Linked DNA regions of Homo sapiens: all the other regions are linked to region 2. The links are contacts of gene promoters, found by promoter capture Hi-C in blood cells and fetal thymus (Javierre and others, 2016). All regions are on one chromosome and are shown on one strand. The core of a region is centred on a gene start or on the middle of the fragment in contact, and the rest is flanking DNA. Distances in the headings are between cores, read along the strand shown. Region 1 has its middle 59 kb from the start of LINC02725. Region 2 holds the start of KCNJ5 (potassium inwardly rectifying channel subfamily J member 5). Region 3 has its middle 100 kb from the start of LINC02725. Region 4 has its middle 22 kb from the start of LINC02725. Region 5 has its middle 120 kb from the start of LINC02725. Region 6 has its middle 39 kb from the start of LINC02725. Region 7 has its middle 80 kb from the start of LINC02725.

What was found. The method cuts DNA at HindIII sites, captures the fragments that hold promoters and counts their contacts. A CHiCAGO score of 5 or more calls a contact.
Region 1: a fragment that was not itself captured here is called in contact with the fragment with the promoter of KCNJ5 in region 2 in 7 of 17 cell types (naive B cells, naive CD8 T cells, total B cells and 4 more); the score reaches 7.9 in naive B cells.
Region 3: a fragment that was not itself captured here is called in contact with the fragment with the promoter of KCNJ5 in region 2 in 5 of 17 cell types (naive CD8 T cells, activated CD4 T cells, total CD8 T cells and 2 more); the score reaches 8.4 in naive CD8 T cells.
Region 4: a contact is called between a fragment that was not itself captured here and the fragment with the promoter of KCNJ5 in region 2, in 5 of 17 cell types (naive B cells, naive CD4 T cells, activated CD4 T cells and 2 more). The highest score is 5.7, in naive B cells.
Region 5: a contact is called between a fragment that was not itself captured here and the fragment with the promoter of KCNJ5 in region 2, in 3 of 17 cell types (total CD8 T cells, total CD4 T cells and activated CD4 T cells). The highest score is 6.3, in total CD8 T cells.
Region 6: a contact is called between a fragment that was not itself captured here and the fragment with the promoter of KCNJ5 in region 2, in 1 of 17 cell types (total B cells). The highest score is 6.7, in total B cells.
Region 7: a fragment that was not itself captured here is called in contact with the fragment with the promoter of KCNJ5 in region 2 in 6 of 17 cell types (non-activated CD4 T cells, activated CD4 T cells, total CD4 T cells and 3 more); the score reaches 9.4 in non-activated CD4 T cells.

Annotation. Positions count from the first base shown.
Region 1 is chr11:128,034,994-128,038,455 of GRCh38, reverse strand. No RefSeq gene overlaps it. Among named protein-coding and RNA genes, the nearest start is that of LINC02725, 59 kb to the left of the region's middle. The HindIII fragment of the contact is 6,153 bases long and covers 1-3,462 here.
Region 2 is chr11:128,889,875-128,893,225 of GRCh38, reverse strand. KCNJ5 (potassium inwardly rectifying channel subfamily J member 5) reads right to left here and starts at 1,870. Exons shown (of 3, transcript NM_000890.5): 1 at 1,505-1,870. The HindIII fragment of the contact is 6,484 bases long and covers 1,362-3,351 here.
Region 3 is chr11:127,994,293-127,997,322 of GRCh38, reverse strand. No RefSeq gene overlaps it. Among named protein-coding and RNA genes, the nearest start is that of LINC02725, 100 kb to the left of the region's middle. The HindIII fragment of the contact is 3,180 bases long and covers 1-2,982 here.
Region 4 is chr11:128,071,850-128,075,094 of GRCh38, reverse strand. No RefSeq gene overlaps it. Among named protein-coding and RNA genes, the nearest start is that of LINC02725, 22 kb to the left of the region's middle. The HindIII fragment of the contact is 1,910 bases long and covers 811-2,720 here.
Region 5 is chr11:127,973,926-127,977,179 of GRCh38, reverse strand. No RefSeq gene overlaps it. Among named protein-coding and RNA genes, the nearest start is that of LINC02725, 120 kb to the left of the region's middle. The HindIII fragment of the contact is 4,588 bases long and covers 1-3,254 here.
Region 6 is chr11:128,054,816-128,058,059 of GRCh38, reverse strand. No RefSeq gene overlaps it. Among named protein-coding and RNA genes, the nearest start is that of LINC02725, 39 kb to the left of the region's middle. The HindIII fragment of the contact is 6,879 bases long and covers 1-3,244 here.
Region 7 is chr11:128,014,246-128,017,632 of GRCh38, reverse strand. No RefSeq gene overlaps it. Among named protein-coding and RNA genes, the nearest start is that of LINC02725, 80 kb to the left of the region's middle. The HindIII fragment of the contact is 5,844 bases long and covers 1-3,387 here.

The DNA.
Region 1 (3,462 bases), core at 659-3,158, 850 kb after region 2:
GGGATGCCACCAGGTGGCAAAGGGGTGTGTGAGGACGCTTCCAGATCAGCTCTGCAGGAGAATATACATTTATTTTACTCCTTTTATTTGTAAGAAAATGTATTGAATTGTTAAGCATATTTTGTCCTGGTTTTAGCCGTTAAAAAATTCCAGTCAGTAAAATAACATCTGAGGATGCACAGAATGAGAGGGGCATTCGGGATCTTTCCTTCCACAGAGCCCCTCTGCTGGCTCGCCACCCCGTGAACCTCATTCAGCTCAGGCTGCTATTCAGAGAGAGCCCGCGGTCCCCGCCCCTATGCAAGAGCTTAGGGGGGGAGTTAAGACCGCTGCACAAATATATGAAATAAAAGGGCTATGGCAAATGAGTCATTTAAAGTATAAGGAATTGGGCTGGGCACTGTGCCTCACTCCTGTAATCCCAGCACTTTGGGAGGCCGAAGCGGGTGGATCACTTGAGGTCAGGAGCTCCCAGGCTGGCCAACATAGTAAAACCCCCTCTCTGCTAAAAATACAAAAAAATTAGCTGGGTGTGGTGGCCTGCACCTGTGATTCCAGCTACTCGGGGGGCTGAGGCAAAAGAATTGCTTTAACCCGAGATGGAGGCTGCAGTGAGCCGAGATTGTGCCACCGTACCCCAGCATGGGCGACAGAGCGAGACTCCGTCCCAAAAAGGAAGAAAAGAAGGAAGGAAGGAAGGAAGAAAAGAAGGAAGGAAGGAAGGAAGGAAGGAAGGAAGGAAGGAAGGAAGGAAGGAAGGAAGGAAGGAAGGAAAGAAGGAAGGGGAATTGGAATTTTTTTCCTCCTGGAAATGCTTTCCTCTCATGGTGTCTATTGGATTCCTTCTCTCGTTTGTCTTAGTTCATTCCTGGCTGTTCTTTGTTCCTGACTTCTCTTCTTTTGCGTGCAACCGAGACATTCTTTGGAGTTCCACGCTTGACTTTTCCTCTACCTGCAGGTCCCCCAGCTTCACTGGCAATGCTTACTGGAGCCTTCCAGAACTCATTCCCACACCCAGGGCCCCTTAGCTCGAGGTGTGCCATCTGCACCCTGGAGGCTTCTCAAACTTATTACACCTGAGAACACACTCGGTAGCTTCTTCCTATTTCTTCTGACAAATGATGTTGCTGTCACACCTGGGCCAGAAATCTGGACACCAGCCCTGCCTTCACCCCATGCTAACCCTGCATATGCCCTGGCCAGCATCAGGCTGTTGATTCTGCATTCGTATCTTCTCTATGTCACAGACCAGAGTCATTGGCTACAAGGTACAGAAACTTTCTCAAGGCAGATGAGGTAAGGGGAGCTTGTTGTAAAACCATGGCAGACAATTCCATGGGCACCCAAGGGAATGACAGACTCAGCAAGCCATAATGAGGGCTGTGACTGGAACTGGAAATTCAAGAGCCAAGGATGTTCTCTCTATCACTCAAGAGCCCCAGAATCTCTTTCTTTGCTCCTGATTCCTTTCTATTTCAAGAGAAATCATGTCCTGTCTGAAGCTGTCTCTGAGTCCAGGGATCCACGGATATGGAGCACTGGACACGTGAGCCTGTGGCTCAGCCTGCTCCTGACTTGCCTCAGGGCCTATCAGGTTACACTCTCATCCTACTCCTGCATGTCTGCCTTGCCCACCACATTCTCCAAAGACTGTGAGCTCTGTGAGGGCTGTGATTGTGTCTCACTCATCTTTGTATTCCCCAGAAGTCATCACATTCCCTGGCACATAGTGACATGCAATAATGCTTGCTGACTGGACATCTGTCTCTACACAGACAGTGCACACATTTGCCATAACCTCAGTACAGACCACGTCATCTCTGAATGACTGCGAGAGTCTCAAGTTCATCTCTGGTTTCTACTACTTGCCCCCTGTTTGGACTGACCTGTTTCCCTTTGTCCATGTGAGTGTATCCTCTGCAGAATGGCTGGAGTGACTATGGTGAAACTCAGGTCAGACAATGGCATGTCTCTGCTCAAAATCTTCCCGTGGCTTCCCATCTTGCACTGATGCCAAATTCTTACAGGTGTGAAAAGCACTGTAGGATCCGACCCTGCACTGCCTCCTGCAACTCCTCCTAACACTGCCCAGTCACTGGGCTCCAGCCACAGCAGCCCCTCACTGTCCCCCATCACAGCCTTCTAGGACGCACTTGACCCACCCTTTGCCTGGAAGCCTCAGGCAGAGATCTTCACGGCTGCTCTTTCACATCCTCTAGGTCTCCGGTCACATATCAGTTTATCACAAAGGTCTGCACCCCAAACCCTCTATATAAGGAAATACGCCCATTGAGGTACCTCTATGCCCCTTTTTTTGCTTTGATCTTTCATGTAGCATTTTCAAAATGAGCACCTATTATATCTTTTGTACTAATGTTATGCTGTGTGTCTCACATCTCTTGAATATCTGTTCCTTAAAGTGACAGACTTTTAAACTGTTCACCGATATATCTCAATACCTAAAATAGTGCTTGACACAGTTGATTCCGAAAAAATGTTTTTTGAAATGAGTGCATAAGTCATTGGAAAGATATTTATAATGCTGTTTTTATTTGCTTTTCTCCAGTTTTAACCTGCTCTGTGACTTTATGTTTCTGCTACCGTAAATCTATTATTTGTTGCCAAATCGGCCACACATCCTCTGGTTTTATTGTGTGGTGGTGGCAGGCGGGTGGGGGGGCAATCTTTGTTTTAAGGTTTAAATTAAAGTGTAGTGCACTTCTATCCCAAGGAGAAGAAAAAGATCATATAGAGATGAATGGAAATTAGAGGTATGAGTGGTATATTAGTCAGGGTTCTCTAGAGGGACAGAATTTACAGGATAGATGTATACATAAAGGGGAGTTCATTAAGGAGTATTAACTCACACGATCACAAGGTGAGGTCCCACAGTAGGCTGTCTGCAAGCTGTGGAGCAAGGACACCAGTCAGAGTCTCAAAGCTGAACTTGGAGTTCGATGTTTGAGGGCAGGAAGCATCCAGCACGGGAGAAAGATGTAGGCTGGGAGGCTAAGCCAGTCTAATTTTTTCACATTCTTCTGCCTGCTTTATACTAGCTGTGCTGGCAGCTGATTAGATGGTGCCCACCAAGATTGACAGTGGGTCTGCCTCTCCCAGTGCACTGACTCAAATGCTCATCTCCTGTGGCAGCACCCTCACAGACACACCTAGAAACAGTACTTTGCACCCTTCAATCCAATCAAGTTGACATTCAATATTCACCATCACAAGTGGTCAACCATGCTGTCTAAACCCTGTGTATGTATGTGTGCCTGCTCCCGTGTGCATACAGAAGTGTGTGTGTAGGAATGCACATGGCGTGTATGTGTGTAGACACTTCTGTAGCACTGTCCCTGCATGTGCAGGTGCATATGCAATTATTCCCAACACTGTCCATTGAGAGGGCCGAGAAGGAGAGACAGCCTAGGAGCAATGAGGGTGCTTAGTGTTCAAATCTGTCTC
Region 2 (3,351 bases), core at 621-3,120:
CATCTCAGGTGGGGTCCATAGATAGTTTAAAATACCAGCCAAGCTGACCAAACTCTTTATGCCAGAGTCCAACCATGGGCCTCTAACTCCCACATCATTTGCTCTGCCCTGTTCGTTCCTCAGATTCCAGGAAGCCTGAGCGCCTCATTCAGCCAGATGATGCAATTTACACCTGGCTTTGAGGAAAAGCAGGGATGTGGAAAGACAAGAGCAGCTTTCAGAATTAGCTTTTGTTAGTGGAAAGACCCTGGATTTAAAGCCAGAGGACAAGAGTTTTGGAGATAGCAGTGCTGCTGCCACTTAGTGCCTGGAATTCTGTTACCCTTACTCTCATCTATAAAACAGAAGAAATAAGCTCTGCCCCACAGGACTGGTGTCAAGATGAACTCATGTAAACGTATATAGCTCGGCACCTTGGTTTCATAAATATTAGCCTTTTCCTCACATGGAAAAGTGCTTTGAGAACCAGAAAGCCCGATAAACCATATGGCTTTTGATGAAAACGAGGCACATTTTGGAGTCAGATATAGGAGAGAATCTCCCTTTATGAGCTGTGCACCTGAGGCAAATTGCACAGCCTCTCTGGGCTTCAATTTTTCACCTGTAGAATGAGGATGATAATCTCAGCTTATTAAAAGGATTGAAACAGAGTAAAATACTTGGCGTGTTCCTGTTGATCTTCTTCTGGTGTTTGAAAAGGCTCCTGGAACAGGTTTTGGGCTGGTGTTGCTCACCCTGATGTTCAGGGTAGGCCCTAGAACTTTGGGGGCCGGACCTGAGGCCCTCCACAGCCCCTGGGGTTGGAGAGCCCTGTTTGAGGGAAGGCACAGATAAAACCAGGGGGCCAACAGCTCTGCAGGGAGAAGCACTGACTTGAAGAGAAGGGGAGCAATGACAAGGCCGGCCTTCTCTGTTCCCTATCCTCTGTCCTCACAGGCTTGACCCCTGGCCTTTCTGAACCATTTGAAAGCTCTTTAAAAGGAGATAGGGAGGTACGCAGGAAGTGACTTGGGCAGCGAGGGGGGCAGAAATCACAAGGCCGTGTTTCCAGTTTGGCCACACTTAAAAGAGAAAGCAAGATTAGGCTGGGGATCTAAGGCTGAGGGGGGCACCGCCCCCCATCCTGGCCCTCCCTGCTCCCATTTGAAGGAAGAGTCCTACCAGGTGAAAAATGTCCTCCACACCCCACCCACTCCTGGCCACTGTTGCCTCTCAAACCACTGCTGGGAGATCTGGGGCACCCCCAGGTAGCCCTGGTCTAGTGCCAGAAGTGAAGGTGTTTATGGCTGGGCTCCCAACGCACAGGGCAGCCTGCAGCCACGGAGATCTCCAATTTCCTAAACTTGGACCTGCCCTAAGCTTTTCCTTATCCCCCCTGGCTCCCAGTCTAGCAGGTTCCCTGTGAAAGCCTGCTGCCCAGGTGATGGACACCTGAGGGTGTCATCCTGCCCTCCAGAACCCGCGAGCTGGGGGAGAAATGGAGGAGGAAAAGAAGACAACTTACTTGTTGAGATCGGAGCTTCCGAGTCCCACTGATGCTAACTTCTGGGGTGTCCCTTAGCGGCGGTGCAGGGGGGCTCAGGGCTTTTGAGGGGACTCCCCAGCCCCTGCCATGACCCCACGGAGGAGCTGTAGCTGGAACCTCTCCCTGTTGTGGGGTCCTGTGGGCAGAGGTACCTAAGCCATCCTGTCCCTTCACTCGCGGCCCCTTGGGTCACTCCCTTTCTCTAGCGAGAGCAGCTGGAACAATCTCTCTCTCTCTCTCTCTCTCTCTCTCTCTCTCTGTGTGTGTGTGTGTGTGTGTGTGTGTGTGTGTGTGTGTGTGTGTCCCCTCCTCCCTCTCCTCTCTCCCTCCGTCCCTGGTACAAATGAATCTCTGGGTAGTAACGCGACTGGAAGGGCCACCGGCGTTGGCGGCGGGGGGCGGGCTGGGGTGGGGCGGGGGCTCCATGTGATCCGGGACGCCGTCAGCTCGGCAGGACTGGGAGGGAAGAGGAAGGCGGAGAGAGAGCCCGGCAGGCATCCAGCCCTCCGCTCGCGTCCCCGCGGCCCCCTGCGCCCTCCCCCGGCTCCCCCTGCCCCCGGCTGCACCCCTGCTGCGGGGTGCCAGGGACGGAGACCCGCGCGCGCGCGTGTGAGCGTCCCATGCCTGTGTGTGAGCGCCGCGTGTCACGCGTGTCCGTGTGTGAGCGCCGCGTATTTAGTGGGTGCGGTGGAGCAGACAGAAAGAAGGGAGAAACTATTAGGGCAGAAATCTTGGCTCGGAGCCTCGGCGGGGCTGCTCAGTCGCTCCGCGGTGCGCTAAGCGGACGGTTGGCAGCATTTCGCCGTTTCCCGAGAGGGATGGAGCAGATGGGGGGATTCCTTTGGGAAGGCGGGGGAGCCACAGTCTGGGCGCTGCATCCCCCGCCCGACGGCTCTGATTCCCGCCGTGGAGTGAGGGTCCGGGGGCCTGATCCGCCAGCTGCAGGGGGAGTAGGTCCAGGGACAGGACCCAGGCTAGCTGTCCCCGGGCTCGCTGCTCACCCCGGACGATCTCTCCCCGGCGTGCGGCGGCGGCTGGGCGGCGATGGCTGGAAACGCGCCCTGCACGGACAGGAGGCGGGAGCAGCCCGGAGGGAACGGAGCTCAACCTTGCCCAGGCGTGGGCAGAGCCGGCGTCCTCCGCGCCACCTCCCGGCTCTCCCTTTTGGATTCCTACCTGCCTTGAGGACAGATGATGACCAGAGTGTGTTCTTTAATTCGTGGAAGCCGTAGGAAAGGCAGCTGCCAGGGCAGGCTGAAAGGGAGGGCTGCTGTCTGGGGAGGGCCGGCAGGTGCCTCTGAGGACCGGTCTGTTCGGGGTGGCCCTTCTCACCCGGTGGTGTTCCTTCTGGCCCCTCTCCGTTACCCAGCCTTTTGGGGTCAACACCCCCCCTGCCAGCCCCCTCTCTCAGGGCAGACACAGCTGGTCAAACGTGGGGTGCCCTAGCACCTAGCACAAGTGCTAGGTGAATGATGTCTACGACCAGAAAACTGGTTTATTACGTTGCAATGAGAAAAATGCTTGTCACTAATACTGGAGGGCACCAAGTCCATCCTCTCCTGTAAGGACAGTGACAGGGAAACTTAGTCTCTAACAGTGGCCTGGGGGTCCTCTTGCCTCGGAGACCAGCGTACACACAGCCCGTTGCCCAGGCACCCTCCCCTGGGACAGAGCACAGAGCGGTCCGGCCAGAGTGGGCCTCCTGATTGCCCCTCTTCTCTCTGTAGAGGGGGTGATTGTTAAATGTGGCTGCAACAGGCCCTAACAGGAAAGCTCTGTGTCCCCTTAGGGGACTCAGCTTGCCTAGGTGCTCACGCACTGCACCA
Region 3 (3,030 bases), core at 143-2,642, 900 kb after region 2:
ATTACAAACCAGGTGCAAGTAACGACGATGCTAAACAATCTACATGTAGCTCACATCAAATGAAGATTAAGGAGTGACAGATTTCAAGATGATAGATTCAGGTTTTACAGAGACAGAGTTCTGTGTTTGCTTGTAGATAACCATGTTTGTTTTCCTTCACTATAAAAAAAATCATTGCAATATATATTCTACTAATGTAGTTACAAAATTAGACATTCAGAGCAAGCGAGATCCTTGCACGTCCCATAGAAATGAGGCATGCATTCCAGAATGTCTGCGTAATTCAGTTAGTTTTTAAATTGTGAAATCACACTTTAGGATTTTCTCTCTTTGTGGGCCAGTTAGTTGTGTTTTTTTTTTTTCCACTACCACAGAAAACATCCTCACACCAGCCTCCAGCCATCAAATTGCCAGCTGTCATAAGGATCGGCAGATCAACATTGTCCTGAAAAAACAGGGCAGAGTGCCGGTCATACAGTTGATAGGTTGGTGATGATCTTTTAATTTAAAAGTCGCTTATAATTCTAGCAAGACATTCCTCCATCTCCCTGTGTAGTAATCCAACAGATCTCTTAAGGCAAAACAATGAACCAAAAGTGTGTCCTTCTCTTGGGCCCCAGGCAATGTGGAGAGAGCCATGGTAATTTATTTTTGTACAACACTTCACCATGACAAGGGACTATCAGATCTCTATTGGTCCTCATGCTTGTAGAGAAGGCCACACACACATCTATGAGGATAAAAATGAGACTCTTAGGTCCTGGATGACTTGACAAGTTTGTCTAGTACGTGGCTGTATTAGTTCTTGAATTAGTCTTAAATTTGTGCCAACTTCAAAGCCAGTATTTACTGAAGAATAACTTTTTGCTCTAGTTTGTGAAAGGTACAAAATAGGTTATTCCTTCATGTTTTTGTTGGGTCAGAATAGGCATACCTTACTCGTACTGCAGTGTTGCCGTGTTTCTGATGGATTGTCCTAGTGTAGGGGAGAAAGAATTTGGGGGAACTTCTTCACTGATCAAAATCACTAACCTTTTTCTAACCACAGCACTTTTTATTAATTCCACCTCTGACTGAGAAATGTTTTGAACATATTATTCATGCATATGGATTGCTGTGTGTGAAAATCATAAAGTGAAACTTATTTCTATTAGTCAAAAGACATAGCCAATGTAACTAACTCCCTCTCTGTCTTGTGGACAGCATGGAGCATAGTTCACCTTTGCAAACTGCCTGAGACATGCACAGAGAATGGCATTATCTACCAATGCTAGACGTTTTTTTTTTTTCTTTGAGATGGAGTCTCTCTCTGTCACCAGGTTGGAGTGCAGTGGTGCGATCTCGGCTCACTGCAACCTCCACCTCCTGGGTTCAAGTGATTCTTGTGCCTCAGTCTCCTGAGTAGCTGGGATTACAGGCACGCGCCACCACACCCAGCTAATTTTCACATTTTTATAGAGACGGGATTTCACCATGTTGGCCAGGGTGGTCTCGATCTCCTGACCTGGTGATCCACCTGCCTTGGCCTCCCAAAGTGCTGGGACTACAGGCATGAACCACCGCACCCGGCCAAATGCTAGGCATTTTAAAGTCTGCAGCTGAAATAATACCCAAAGAGAAAATTATCCATAGTGTTAGAGAAATATCATATATTAAGACAGAGGAGCTCAGAGAACAGAGAAGATGAGTGGGAAAGTCCTAAGGAAAGATTTCAGGAAAAACAACCCCACCCCCCAACCCCAATTACGGATTCAACAGCTGAGAATGACCTTGTGTGTTTATGGTTACCATTTTAAACGTTTGTCTAATCCCAGTTGAAAGGTGGAAAATAGCAAGTTACCTCCAAAGTGCAGAGCTCTATAGGCTGATTTCACCTCAAAATTCCACGAGGAACACACCTGCTCAGCCCATTGGGTCAGAAGCCCCAGAGAGCTGCTCTCACACGTTACATTGTCCACTGGAGAGTCTGTCCACACAGCCAGGCTCAAGAGGGAATGTATGATGTCTTTTCCTTGCTTCCTCTGCTGCCATTTCTGTTGTTTATCTCAAGGTACATAAAGGTGTGGAGGCCCAGCTGATCTTGTTTAAGAGGCTGATCTCAGCATAGTGTGAGTGGAGAGAGGAAGAAAATAAACAGGATAATGAAGGGGCTTCCAGGTATGGGCAATGGTTTGTTTCTTGAGCTGGGTACTGAATGCACATGGGTTCCGTTTGTAAACATTCCATTGGCTGTATATTTGTGGCAGGAATATTTTCTGAATATGTATTATATTACAATAAAATGGAGGGGAAAAAAAGCCTGGCTGTATTTTGTCATTCCTGGTGTACGAGTAGTAGTTTTAGGGTAAAAATCTCTAGTACAAAACCTTTGAGTTAGGACTTGGAATTTCAAACCCAACATACTCAGATATTTCAAATGCCTGAAGCATTATGTGTTCGTTCATAGCCTCAACACTCTGAGTCTTACATTGTTCTTCTTTCCCTAAGGTTACTTTATTTCAGAGAAGTGTGAGAAAGTCTACCTAAATGGAACTTAAGCCATGTTAGTCAGAATATCACCGTATCTATCTACCTCTCCTCTACCTTCTCCAATTTTTTTTCGAGAGAAAATCTAATTGGTTAAAATTTCTTCAAGTGATTTATGATTAAAGAAAACAGTTACCTTATTTAACATTAATGGTCACTTCAAAAGTTATAGATAAGTCACAGAAAAACTTATTTTTTTCTAAATAATACCTCATTTTCCCATAAAATGAAATGGACTGTGTGTCCAGATGTGAGAGAGAAGTGTGCTGACTTTTTAACTTTTGCCTACAGAAATGTCCGTGCTGGCTTTAAGGTTAAAGTGTCACAGGAGACATGCTGGGGGTTGTCTAATCTAGAAAATAATAAAATAACCTTTATCTCTATTAAACTATGTACACACACACACACACACACACACATTTGCACGCTGTGATTTATGCACCTTTTCCTGAAGCTTTTGAAAAATGCTGAAAGTTCCATCACCAAACCACTCAGGAAAAGCAG
Region 4 (3,245 bases), core at 516-3,015, 820 kb after region 2:
ACTTGTTATTAAGAAGTCAGGGCTGAGTCTGTTCTTTCTTTATAGACAATCTATCTTTTTAAGCTGGGAGATTTTAATATCTTCTTTTCATTTTTTGTGTTTTGAAATTTTACCAGATTTATTGTCTTTTTTATCCTTCTTAGGATTCATTGAGCATCCCAAAGCTCAGGGCTTGTTTTTGTTTTTGTTTTTATTTTCCATCTTTTCTAGACATTTTTAATCCTTTTCTCATCAAATATGTTTTTCTGTCATAGAAAAACTTCACCTTTGATCAACTATTTGATAGTGCTTCTCATCATTTCCTCCGTCTCCTTATTTAATCTTTCCTATCTCATATCTCTTGATCTCTGTACAAAATTGTGATACTTTCTCTAGATCTATTTTATACTTCACCAACTGTTTCAGAATTACCATAGAATCTACTATTTAAATAATCTATTGATTTATAAAATTTTAATAATAAAATTTATCTTTTCTATAATCTTTTTAGTTATTTTCAAAGCTATCATTCCTTATTCATGTTTTCAATGCCCAGTCTAATTATTTAAACTATTTATTATTTACATTTTATATATGTATATTCTAATAAACAAGACTCTTGGGGGTAAAATTATGCTGTTTATTATTTCTGCTATCAAGTATGGTGGCTTGTTTCCTTTGGTTTGAGATTTGCGATTCGGAAGCCTTTCTTTGACTTAATGTCCTCTGTGAGTTATAATTCAAGTTCAGCCTCACCACCAATGAGAGCTCAGCCTGGCTGGTTTCCTTTATTAATCACTTGTGAAATAAGGATATAAAGAAGGTAAAGCTTTATTTATTTTATTTCAGAGGCAACGGTAGAGTTTGTTCCTCTATTGTTTCATAAGCCATGCACTAGTTCCATTCTTTGAGTAGTTTCTAAATATATGCATATTTTACTAAAAGTATAAGGTCAATTAATGTCTCTGAACTATAAGTTAACATATTAACTATTCTTATTATTATAACTTAGCAATTATTCTTTTTCTAATCTTTTAGAGCTATTATGTTTTATAACTCAAATTAGATATTATTGTTACTATATTGTAATCCAGTTGATTATTTATATCTCAAAACCTTAAGATTGTTTTCTATTACCTGAAACACATCTTTCAGTAATTAGTTTCAAATTCTAGTCCTATAATACCAAAGTATATTTCCCCCTTGAGCATGCTTTTAAGATTATAAATTTATGTTGCTACTGGGACCAAAAGGCTGCCTCGTTTTTCATATGTGGTGCATTTGTCTTTTTTTCTGACCTTCCAGAGGCAGCTGCATGAAAAGTGTCAGTACCATTGCTTTTTGCTACGAGTAGAAATGACACTAGCTGTAATTAAATCCCTATCATTTTAGAAATGGACAATCCTAAATTGCCACTTTTGTTTTCCTAAGCAAGAGTTTCCTTCTATGAGTGTCTTGCTTCACTATCATATTTAAATGTGTCTGTGTTTTCCATTGCCCGTTTACTCAAGCCACTATCTGCTCTTCCTTGGATTATGACAGAAGCCTCTTAACTGATGTCTTCATTCCTCTCAGATCTTTTCAGATCTGTTCTTATTATAACAAGTGCAAAAACTCAGGTACCAAATCAGTTCTTACAGAATTCAATTTTTATTTAAAAGAAAACCAAAACGAAGGAGAGTCTGAAGGATTGACAGGATATTTATTTAGCTATACAGTATTGTCAGTCTAAAAGGAAGGTACTGGGACAGGAAGAAGAGAAAAAAAAAGAAAGAAAAAACAAGATGGACGTGAATGAGATGGAAGGAGAAGAGGAGTATGGGTTGCAAGATGGAGGATGAGAAGATAAAAGGGCAACTGAAGGTGCTGTGGAGAAAACACTGTCCGTTTTTACCAATTTTTCTTTTGGGCAGGCCACATGAACTGACCTCAGTAATGGAGTGGAAATCACAGGGCGAAAGAGAGGAAAAGAGGAATGTCTTTCTTGCTCTTCAAAAGCTCAGGTATAATAAATCCTATGCAACGTAACAGTAGATCCCATTAGACCTTCTTGGGCACAGGCTAATGGGGTTTGGACAGGGTCCAGTGGCAATCCACAAACCTGCAAACCTCCCAGGCTGTGCTGTTTGCTTGAGTGTGAGCTGTTTGCAAGAGGGCAGGGGTATGTCTGGAATAGTTGAGCTGTTGTTTGGGGGCTGGACTGGCTTCTACTCAGGAAATGTTGGGAGAAAAACAGGTGAGAAAAAGTAAGAAGAGGAAATATACATGTATTGCCTAAAAGAAGAAACAGGACTAAGGACCTGACTAAATCTTACTCCCTCTATGACAAATTCCATTTCCAAGAAATACATGACTATCAGAACCTACTAGGGTAAACAAGTGTAAAATAAAATATTCTGTCACACTTAGCTGTCATTCCCAACAGTCTAGACTAGGAGAGTGTCCAGATGAGGGATAAGAACATAGATGTGGGGAAAAGAAAGAATAAAGTAGAAAGATAAATTCATTCTTCTGTATCTCCAAGTCACTCTCTTCTAACTGCAAGTGGTGCAATAAAGACTTTCAATGCACCTCAGCCCAATGCAGTACATATTTATCAAACTGAGCATTATTCCTAATATTACCTAAAGGTAAATCAACAGAAGCATAGCGAGTCCCCTGAACAAAACGGGTGTGTGTGAGTGTGTGTATTTGGGGGAATAGCTCATCCAACATTCATCTCCCTTCCTTTTCCTTAAGCTTGCAATTAATGTAAATCATGCCTTACCTGAATGAGAGACATTTTACAGTTGCACTGCTTGGGTTCCAAATCCTGACTCGGAGGCACTGAGAGGTTAACTAGCACAACTGGCAAGTACATTTTCCTCTGTGTGAAATGTGAGAATTTAGTTTGTAAATATAAGTGCTTAGAACAATTACTGGCACATTATAAAATGTTTGCTATAATGATCACATCTCCACTAAATCAAGTAAAATCTACTTCCAAGTTCTCATTCACCAAAGTTCTTAAGATGTGCAATACAAATGTTTTGGTAGCTCCTTCTTCCTCCCACATTAGAACAAAGACTCTGAGATTATGCAGTCCAGGTGAGAATGAGCAAGGAGGCCCATGATTGTAATTATTAAGCACACAGAGGTGCTGGCTCTAATACGAATTTACTACGTGGATCCTTCCTACAGCTCTCAAGAATGTGATACCTAGTGCCCATCCTCCACAAGCTCCAGAGAACCATAGACAATCTGAGGTCCAGGTACTGCCTGGCACA
Region 5 (3,254 bases), core at 101-2,600, 920 kb after region 2:
CATAATGGATTATAAATAGAAATGTAAAATGCAAAACTCTACAACTTTCGGCAGATAACACAGGAGAAAGTCTAGGTGTCCTTAAGTTATTGGTAAGTTTTTGAAGTAATACCAAAAGCATAATCCATGAAAGAAAAAAAAACTGATAACTGGATCCCTTCCTTAAACCTTATACAAAAATTAATTCAAGATGGATTAAAGACTTAAATGTTAGATGTAAAACCATAAAAACCCTAGTAGAAAACCTAGGCATTACCATTCAGGACATAGGCATGGGCAAGGACTTCATGTCTAAAACACCAAAAGCAATGGCAACAAAAGACAAAATTGACAAATGGGATCTAATTAAACTAAAGAGCTTCTGCACAGCAAAACAAACTACCATCAGAGTGAACAGGCAACCTACAAAATGGGAGAAAATTTTTGCAACCTACTCATCTGACAAAGGGCTAATATCCAGAATCTACAATGAACTCAAACAAATTTACAAGAAAAAAACAAACAACCCCATCAAAAAGTGGGCAAAGGATATGAACAGACACTTCTCAAAAGAAGACATTTATGCAGCCAAAAGACACATGAAAAAATGCTCATCATCACTGGCCGTCAGAGAAATGCAAATCAAAACCACAATGAGATACCATCTCACACCAGTTAGAATGGCGATCATTAAAACGTCAGGAAACAACAGGTGCTGGAGAGGATGTGGAGAAATAGGAACACTTTTACACTGTTGGTGGGACTGTAAACTAGTTCAACCATTGTGGAAGTCAGTGTGGCGATTCCTCAGGGATCTAGAACTAGAAATACCATTTGACCCAGCCATCCCATTACTGGGTATATACCCAAAGGACTATAAATCATGCTGCTATAAAGACACATGCACACGTATGTTTATTGTGGCACTATTCACAATAGCAAAGACTTGGAACCAACCCAAATGTCCAACAATGATAGACTAGATTAAGAAAATGTGGCACATATACACCATGGAATACTATACAGCCATAAAAAATGATGAGTTCATGTCCTTTGTAGGGACATGGATGAAATTGGAAATCATCATTCTCAGTAAACTATCTCAAGGACAAAAAACCAAACACTGCATGTTCTCACTCATAGATGGGAATTGAACAGTGAGAACACATGGACACAGGAAGGACACACTCTGGGGACTGTTGTGGGGTCGGGGGAGGCGGGAGGGATAGCATTAGGAGATATACCTAATGCTAAATGACGAGTTAATGGGTGCAGCACACCAGCATGGCACATGTATACAAATGTAACTAACCTGCACATTGTGCACATGTACCCTAAAACTTAAAGTATAATAATAATAATAAATAAAAAAATAAAAAAATAAATTAGAAACTCTGCTCTGTGAAAGACACTTTCATAGACTGGAGAATATATTTGCAAGCAAATATCTATAAAGTACTTGTATCATATGCAAAAATCCCTTAACATTTTAACCACAAGAAAACAAGCAACCCAGTGAAAAAGTGCACCTCACCCAAATGTATAATATTTTACCTGTAGCTCAATAACAATTCTGAATTAATTTGTGTATAATGTATGAGACCTAGAGCAACATTGTTATTATTTTGATAATCAAAAAGTCTGTTTTTCAGTGTTTTCTTGTCAAAAGAGAAAAACAATAGAGAAATCAATGAAAAGAGATTTAGTTAATTAAAAAGATCAATAATATTGACAAAACTTTAGCAAGAGTGGCAAAAAAAAAAGAAGACACAAATTACTTATAATACGAATACAAAAGAGATATCAGTACAGAAGCTCCAGGATAGTGAGCGAACACAATGAATAACACTACATTTCTCCTTTCATCTTTATTATTTCCTTTATTCTGCTTACTTTGGGCTTAATTTATCCCTTTCTTTTTTATTTTCTTCAGGTGGGATCTTAGATTATTGATTTGATACTTTTCATTTTTTCCACTACAGGATTCAGTCCTATAAATTTCTTACTCCACACTGTTGTACCTGTGTTCCACAAATTTTAATATGCTATATTTTCATTCATTAAATACATATATATTTCATTTATATATATTTCACTCATTAAATATATATATTATATATATATCATTCATTAAATATGTATATATATATATATTTATTTATTTTTTTGAGAGAGAGAGTCTCGTGATGTCACCCAGGCTGGAGTGTAGTGGTGCAATCCCGGCTCACTGTAACCTTCGCCTCCCAGGTTCAAGCGATTCTCCTGCCTCAGCCTCCAGAGTAGCTGGGATTACAGGCATGCACCACCACACCTGACTAATTTTTGTATTTTTAGTAGAGACAGGTTTCACCATGTTGTCCAGGCTGGTCTCAAATTCCCGACCTGTAGTGATCCTCCCACCTTGACCTCCCAAAGTACTGGGATTACAGGCGTGAGCCACCATGCCCCGCCTTACTTTTTATTTCTCTTGAGAACTTTTTTTTTTTCACTCATGGAATATTTAAAAGTGTTTAGTTTCCAAGTGCTGAGAGTTTCCTATTCTTTCTGTTGTTGATTGCTGAGTTCATTCCATTGTGATTGGATAATATGCTCTGTAGTTTTTCAATTATTTTGAATATATTGGGTTTGGTTTATGGCCTGAAATATTGTCCATTGTGGTATACTTCCTTTGGTTACTTGAAGTGAATATGTATTCTACTGTTGAAGGGTGTAGTAGTCTATAGCTGTCAATTAGATCCTGTTGGTTGATGGTGTTGAATTGATTTATATGCTTTTTGATTTTCTGTCTAGTTGGTTTACTAATTGGTGAAAGGGTCATATTTAACTCTACAAATACAATTGTGAGGTTAACTTCTCCTTTTAGGTCATCTATTTTTGCTTCATATGTTTTGCATCTGCTTTTTGCACATTTAGAAATGTCATGTCTTCTTGATGAATTGACATTTTTATTATTACAGAATCTCTCTCTCTTTCTCCTTCTCCCTCTCTGGTAAGTTTCTATGCTCTAGAGTCTAATTTATCTAATATTACTATAGATAATACATCTTTCCTTTGATTAACATTGTTTCTTTTTTTTTTTTTTTTACTTCTACCTGTTATATCATTTTATGTGAAGCAAGTTTCCTGTGGACCGCATATAGTTAGATAATATTCTTAAATCCATTCTGCCAATCTCAATATTTTAATTGGGGTATTTAAAACACTTATGTATAATGTAGTTGTTGATATATTTGAGCTAAACCTGCTATTTTTTTTGTTTGTTCTGTTTTTTGTTT
Region 6 (3,244 bases), core at 261-2,760, 830 kb after region 2:
GACAAAAATATCTGATCAAATTTCCAAAATAATTAAGGGTTTAAAAAGTCATGCAGACATGGTCCCAGCTTCAGCCTAAGCTGCACTCACCCCTGGGACTCAGACATGTCTGGGTTTGACCGGTTAGCAAGTAGAGCAAGCAGCTCCCTGGCATCTAGTGAAGGAATTCAATTGCATGTGGGAAAGAAGCCTCAGTAAAGGAGGATTGGTGAGAAGCACCAGGAGGACATCTGAGATCTTTTAAGTTCTCTGGGCCGGCATTAGCTGCTTCTATTTGAGCCCTATAGAAAGCAAAGTGCAGCTGTAAGATAAACTGTTTGAACAATTCCATTATTTCCTGGGAGACTCTGAAACACAACCAGTTCTACATTGGTTCTCTGGTGACAAAGTGAGGGAGAGGAGCCTTTTGTCTACATCTACGCTAAACCCGGCATAGCCTTGGTGTATTGAGAGCTCCACTCTGTATGGAGCAGGCATGCAGACTTTGTGATGAGAACATGGATACTCCATGGTGGGCACTGCCAGAGGGCAAGAGGGTGGTACTCTGAACTGGCTTATCAGGAAGCAGGTACTGACGAGGAGACTGGAACAGGAGAGGAAGAACCTTGCTGATGCCATGTGGCCACTGGAGCCCTAGGAATTGTTTGCAAGCTCAGGTGATACATCTCCAAGTCACTCCAAGGAACAACTGGATTAGACTATAGGATTAGACTTTGAAGCGTTAAAGAGGTTTTTGTGGAAGCAGGGGAAATGGCACTTGTGGAATTATTACTATTAATTTTGTACTCATTGTACTCACTTGTAGTCAAAGCCTGTAGAAATGTACCTTAAATTATTTGATGTAGATATGTATAGATATGTGTAGATTTTAAACTATCAATGAAAAAGTGGCAGGTTAGTTTACTCTGTCATCTACAAGTCCTTTTATTCACTTATACTTTCTTCCAAAAACATTATTTTCCCTTTCCTAGATGTCTCAAATTTGATATTTGTAAATATTCATCCATTTATTCACTAAATATCTTTTTTTTTCAAGAGTCTGTGAAATCTAGTGGGTATGCTATAAGATTCCAGATAAGACAGGTTGGGACTTGAACCCTGTCCTTGCTATTACTCACTGGGGGCTATCGTCAAGTTTCTTAATCTATCTGTGCCTCAGTTTTCTCATAAGTAAAATGGGAATCACACACACACATTCACATACACATATGCCCTTATTGAGTTGCTGCAAAAGTATAGATAATGTACTTATTTCAATGTCTGAATATAGTCAGTGCTTATTCATGTTAGCTTAAATAACCAACAGCAACATTATTATCTATTATGAACATGCAGGGCCTTGTGAGAAAACAGGAAAAAATGTCTCAGGGTCATTGTCAAGGAGTCCTTTTTATGCTCCGGTAAGAAAGGTAAGTCTTATAATTTTGGAACAGTCATGTTGTCATTGAAAGATGAGTTTTCTCTCTAGTATTCCTGCCCTAGTGTCAGTCCCCATTTTGGCTTTTGGGTGTGAAGAGTGGTTTGTCTTTTTTGCTGGTATCTTTTGTTCAGTGAAATAGTGAATATATACCTTTGTTCTGTTTACTTCCCATGGTTTTATTTTCTCTCATTAATGTTTTTCCTAAATTCCACTGCAAAAAAAAAAAAATGGCTGATAAAGATGGAGAAAAAAAGTCTAGAAAGAGGGATTTGTTTGTGTCTTCTCCTAGTAAAATTTTCAGCCCTTGGCGGTGGTGGACATTTTTCTCTCTTATCACATTCTCTGCAGTTGAGCTATTCCCACCAGAGACATATTCAGGACTGGACATTATTTTGATTTTAAAGAAGGGGTAATCATGAATTAATTATTAATTTCAATCATGAAGAAATGATGGTCAAAGAAGAAGTAATCAAAAGAGAACAGTAAATAAATAGAGGCTTCACACCCAGATTGTAGGATGGCTACAATCACAAAGACAGCAAATAACATGTGCTGGTGAAGATATGGAGAATGGAGAACCCTCATACCCTGCTGTTGGGGATGCTGAATGGGGAAGCCCCTTTGAAAGACAGCCAGAAAGTTCTTCAAAAGGTTAAATGCAGAGTGACCACATGACTCAGAAGTCACATTTCTAGATTTATACCCAGGTGAAATGAAAATATGTCTCCACCCAAAAGATTATAGCAACATTATTCATTATACACAAAAAGTGGAAACAGCTCAAATCTCCTTCAGGTGATAAATGGATAAATAAAATGTGGGTTATTCATATAATAGAACCTGATTCATCAATAAAAATAAATGGAGCACTGATGCATGCTATGGTGTGGATGTACAGCATGTATGAACATGAAAAACACTTTGCTCAGTGAAAGAAGGACGTCATACTGTATGATTCCATTTAAATAAAATGTCCAGAATAGGCAAATCAACAGGGACAGAAAGTAGATTCGTCGTTGCCAGGGCTGGAGTGGAAGGGACTGGGGGAAATGGGGAGGGACTGACATTGGGTGTGGGGTTTCTTTTTGGTGTCATGAAATGATCCAAAATTCACTGTGGTGGTGGGTAACTTTTCGAATATACTTAAATCATTGACTTGTACATTTTAAATGGGTGAATTGTATGGTATGTGAATTATATTTTAGTAACACTGAGCTTAAAAAAATAGACTGACACAATGTAGATAACTACCCCACCTATATTCCACCCCTAACTATAGTGAACTTTTATAAATAACCTTGAGATATAAAACTTTGCCCCTGGAAGAAAGGGAACATCTGTGTTACAAACACAAACATGGACAATTTCTTCAAGAAATAAAGGGAAATTAGAATTTTTTTAAAAACCTGCAATTCCAAGTTACATTTTTAAGAATTGCTATGCACTTTGACAAGTGCAGGACAGTTCCTCATCAACTATGCTGTGATCGTACAGTTTGCTGAAATATTTTCATTTCTAGCATATTATTATATTAAGAAAAGAAAGTGCTTTGTGAAATTGTTGAGACCAAGAAAAGCAGCCCTAGAGTGGCCTGGAGGGAAAACATTGGGTCTCTTTATGATATTACTCAAAGGCCTTTTAGATCCTGGAGAGGTGACAAAGTCACCCAGGAGAGTGAAGGATAACACAGTAAAAAGTCTTATGTAAAACTGAGACAGGGCTTTTCCTCTGGAAGAATCTTCAACTTCTGGTGCTAAGTCATCTTCCTATAGCTTCCCTGAAGCAGGAATTAGCATTGTAAACTCTTTCTAGACTGTAGGGTGA
Region 7 (3,387 bases), core at 367-2,866, 880 kb after region 2:
TTAATATTTTTGGAGTTACTCAGTGTTGAATTTCATAGCACATTCACCTTTATGCCTACAACTTCCCTTACACCTACATACTGATAACTCACAAATTTATATCTCCAGCTTTGACTTCTCCTCCAAGTTCTAGGCTTTACCAACTAATTGCCTATTAGATGTATGCACTCGGAAGACTTAAAAGCTGTCCATGGTAATTTTGATACAACACTGATGATCTCACTCCAGATATTGGTATTCCTTCAGTGTCTTCCCTATCAGCTAATGGTACTGTCATTCATTCAGGTGTTAATGTCAAAAACCTAGTCAACCTCATCCCTCTTATCTCCATGTCTCATATCAGATACCAATATGATTGTTCTCTCCTTGATTAAAATTGTTCAATAATTTTGTATTAATTAATTAAAATAATAAAGTAGAAGAAGAAACAACTAATATTTAATGAGCCTCATCTGACAGCATTCACTGTACTTTAGAAAACTGGCCTTATTTTAACAGGTGAAATGTGCCATGCTCTGCCCTGAACCAGGCCATGTCCCCTCCTCTGTCTCGAATACTCCGTATTTCTTCTAGGTAACTCCTGTTCGACCTTCAGTTCTCAGCTCAAACTCTTCCTTAGAGAAGCCTTTCCCATTTCTCCAAACTAAGGCAGGTCTCTTTATTATACACTAAATTCATTCCTTCTCCTTTAAGGAAGAACACATTTCTTTATTGTAATATTATTTTGTTTTAGTTAATTATTTTATTGAAGTCTATTTTCTAAATAGACTGTGAGCTCCATAAAGTAAGTGACTTTATCATGACAAAAATGAGAATAATAATTAAGCCCAGGTTTACAAGAACTCAGGGAATTGGGTGAGGAAAGTTAGACAATGTGCTCAATACAAAATGTTTTTGCTTCTTTGTCTCCTATATTTTTCATTTATAAGGAATTCTGCTAGTGGAAAGATATTGAGTATGTTGACCATGAAAAGATAGCTTGATTTTCTCAGTCTCCTTATGATAGAAAATAGTAGAAGGTAATAGTGTGTGTGTCTGTGTGTGTGTGTATGTGTGTGTAAGGGGAAAAAGAGAGTTGCCATCAATAATGTGTAAGTTTACTTGTAAATCTGGACTCTTGAATCAGTCCATGTAAGGTGCTAATAAATTGGCAGACAGGTGTAAACTTTGCTTCAGCCACCATACCTTGTGACATGAGGCATTAGCTCTCTTGGATGAGGCAGCCTAGAAAGGCCCCAAGTCTAAATCCATCCATGTCTACTGGGCTAAGGGAGTGAGATGGAAATGTGCAAACCAGCTTATAGTGGAGGAGTAGGTTGAACTCTAGTTATGCAATCCATAGATAATATGCAAGAACTCAGCTTTAGCAAAGCATACCAAGGAGTGTGGTGTGTCCCCACATATGATTAGAACAAGGTCAACCCTTCTCAATAACTTGTGAGACCATACAGAGAAAGCAGAGACAATTTCAAGTGTTGCTGGGCTGTTAGATTCCATAACAGAGTATTTGGGACTTCAGGGCTAGGAAAATCTCCTTCGAATTAAACATAAGTGATGGGAAAGGAAGTACATCTGAAGAGCACACTTCCTCAGGTGCTTTAGCTATGGAAGGGAAGTGAAAGCAAGGTCATGGCTTAGACCGGCAAGCAGTAGAGTTCTGCCAGGTAAAGAGTGGCCATATCACATGGTGGTTGCTTTTTGGACTTTAGACAGAAGAGATGGCCCAGGGTCTTGGCTTGTTTCTCCTTCCTAGGCCCTAGCCGCCAGTGATCTCTGTGTCCTTCTCTTTCTGCTCCACCTGTGCCTACTTATGTTTCCCCTTTGCTTGTTCTTACTCCATTTATGTTGCTCAGGGATTGTTATTGTCAGTTTCAGGATGCTCAGCATCCACACACATGGGGCCACTGGAAGGACGGAATGTCAGCAAAAGCAAAAATGTCCAGGGACCTACCTCTGTGTTGTTCATGGGGCCCTGACTGGCCAGAAGACATTATTCCTAGGTGAGGGCAGTGCATTCTGTCATTATTATATAGAACTCCCAATAGGAGTCCTATAAAATGATTCTAGACAGATCTTTTACCCGCTCCACATTAGAAGCAGCTTAGCAAGTCAAATGCCTTACTACCAGTAACTATGTTGACCCTCCACCCCATAGAGCATTGCTTAGCTTGGGATAACCCCTGAACTAAAAGTAGAGTCATTCTTTGGAACCAAATCTAAGAACTTGGAACTGGAAACTAAAATAGATTCCCCTACTGTCAGAGACGTCTTTGCTGTTGGATCTTCCTCATGCCTTCTGCAACCTCCCAATTCCTTATTTTGCTTGTCTCCTTGGTCCTTTTATTACTGGCAACCAGACCTATCTCCTTTCCAGTGCCTACCCCAGTCCTAAAACACACAGCTAATTCTGATCCCATCTTTTCCCTATTTGCCTTATCTTATTAGGTTTTACCCGTCCATCTTCACCTCTGTGGCTGAAACCTTATAGATGGCGAACTTCAAGGCAAAAGCAGATTTTTCAGAGAAGTTCCCTCTTATGTAGTGCTAGTAACAGAGCATGGAATGAGGCTGGGCATGCTGGTGGGAACAGGTAGTCCTGGTGCTTATAATAAGGACATGGAGAATTATACGTGAAAGGTATATGTAGGTACTCAGTAAAATTTGCTGATGTATAAATTATTGGGAATAAAACTGATCAGTTTCCGTGGAGAGCTCTTTTTGATCTTTAATTTTATTTTCACACCAATCAAAAAATATTTTACGTTTTTTTTGTGTGTGTCAGGGCCCTGATTACTGGGACATAGAGTAAAACATGTTGAAGCCCTTTGGAGCTGAATATTTAGGACGGTGAGTTATACCTCTCCTGGTTTAATAATCTGTATGAAATTAGAGCAAATTCTCATGATGCCCAGATTCTGGAAAGTATCTTGAGGGCTGGGAGAATACTGCTTCCTGATATCTCCATCCCCATCAAAGTTCAAAAGCACAAGTCAAAAATATCCTTCTTAGAACCTTTGGGATGGTTGTTTCAGTGACTTTGGAAAGTAACATTCTCTCTCTCTCTCTTCTCTCTCTCTCTTTCTCTCACATTACTGTTTCTTAAATTACATTGGTGTTACTTGCTTCAAGGAAAGTTTATTCAAATAATTGACATCTGGCTGGAGCCACACTATGGCCTTTTCTTTGGAATGAAGATTTTCGTAGCAGCTGATGCTAGAGACCAAGTCCCATGCTTGAGGTGTGAGCTCCCTTTTGGGCAGCTCCTGACTACACCAGCAATGTTAATTAAGTTTCTTAATCAAATCCTCAGCTCTAACGGTGTGCTTTTGCTCTGTGTGCTTTGTCTAGTTAAAATACTTCTAAAAGCAAATACCTGATTTCTAAATG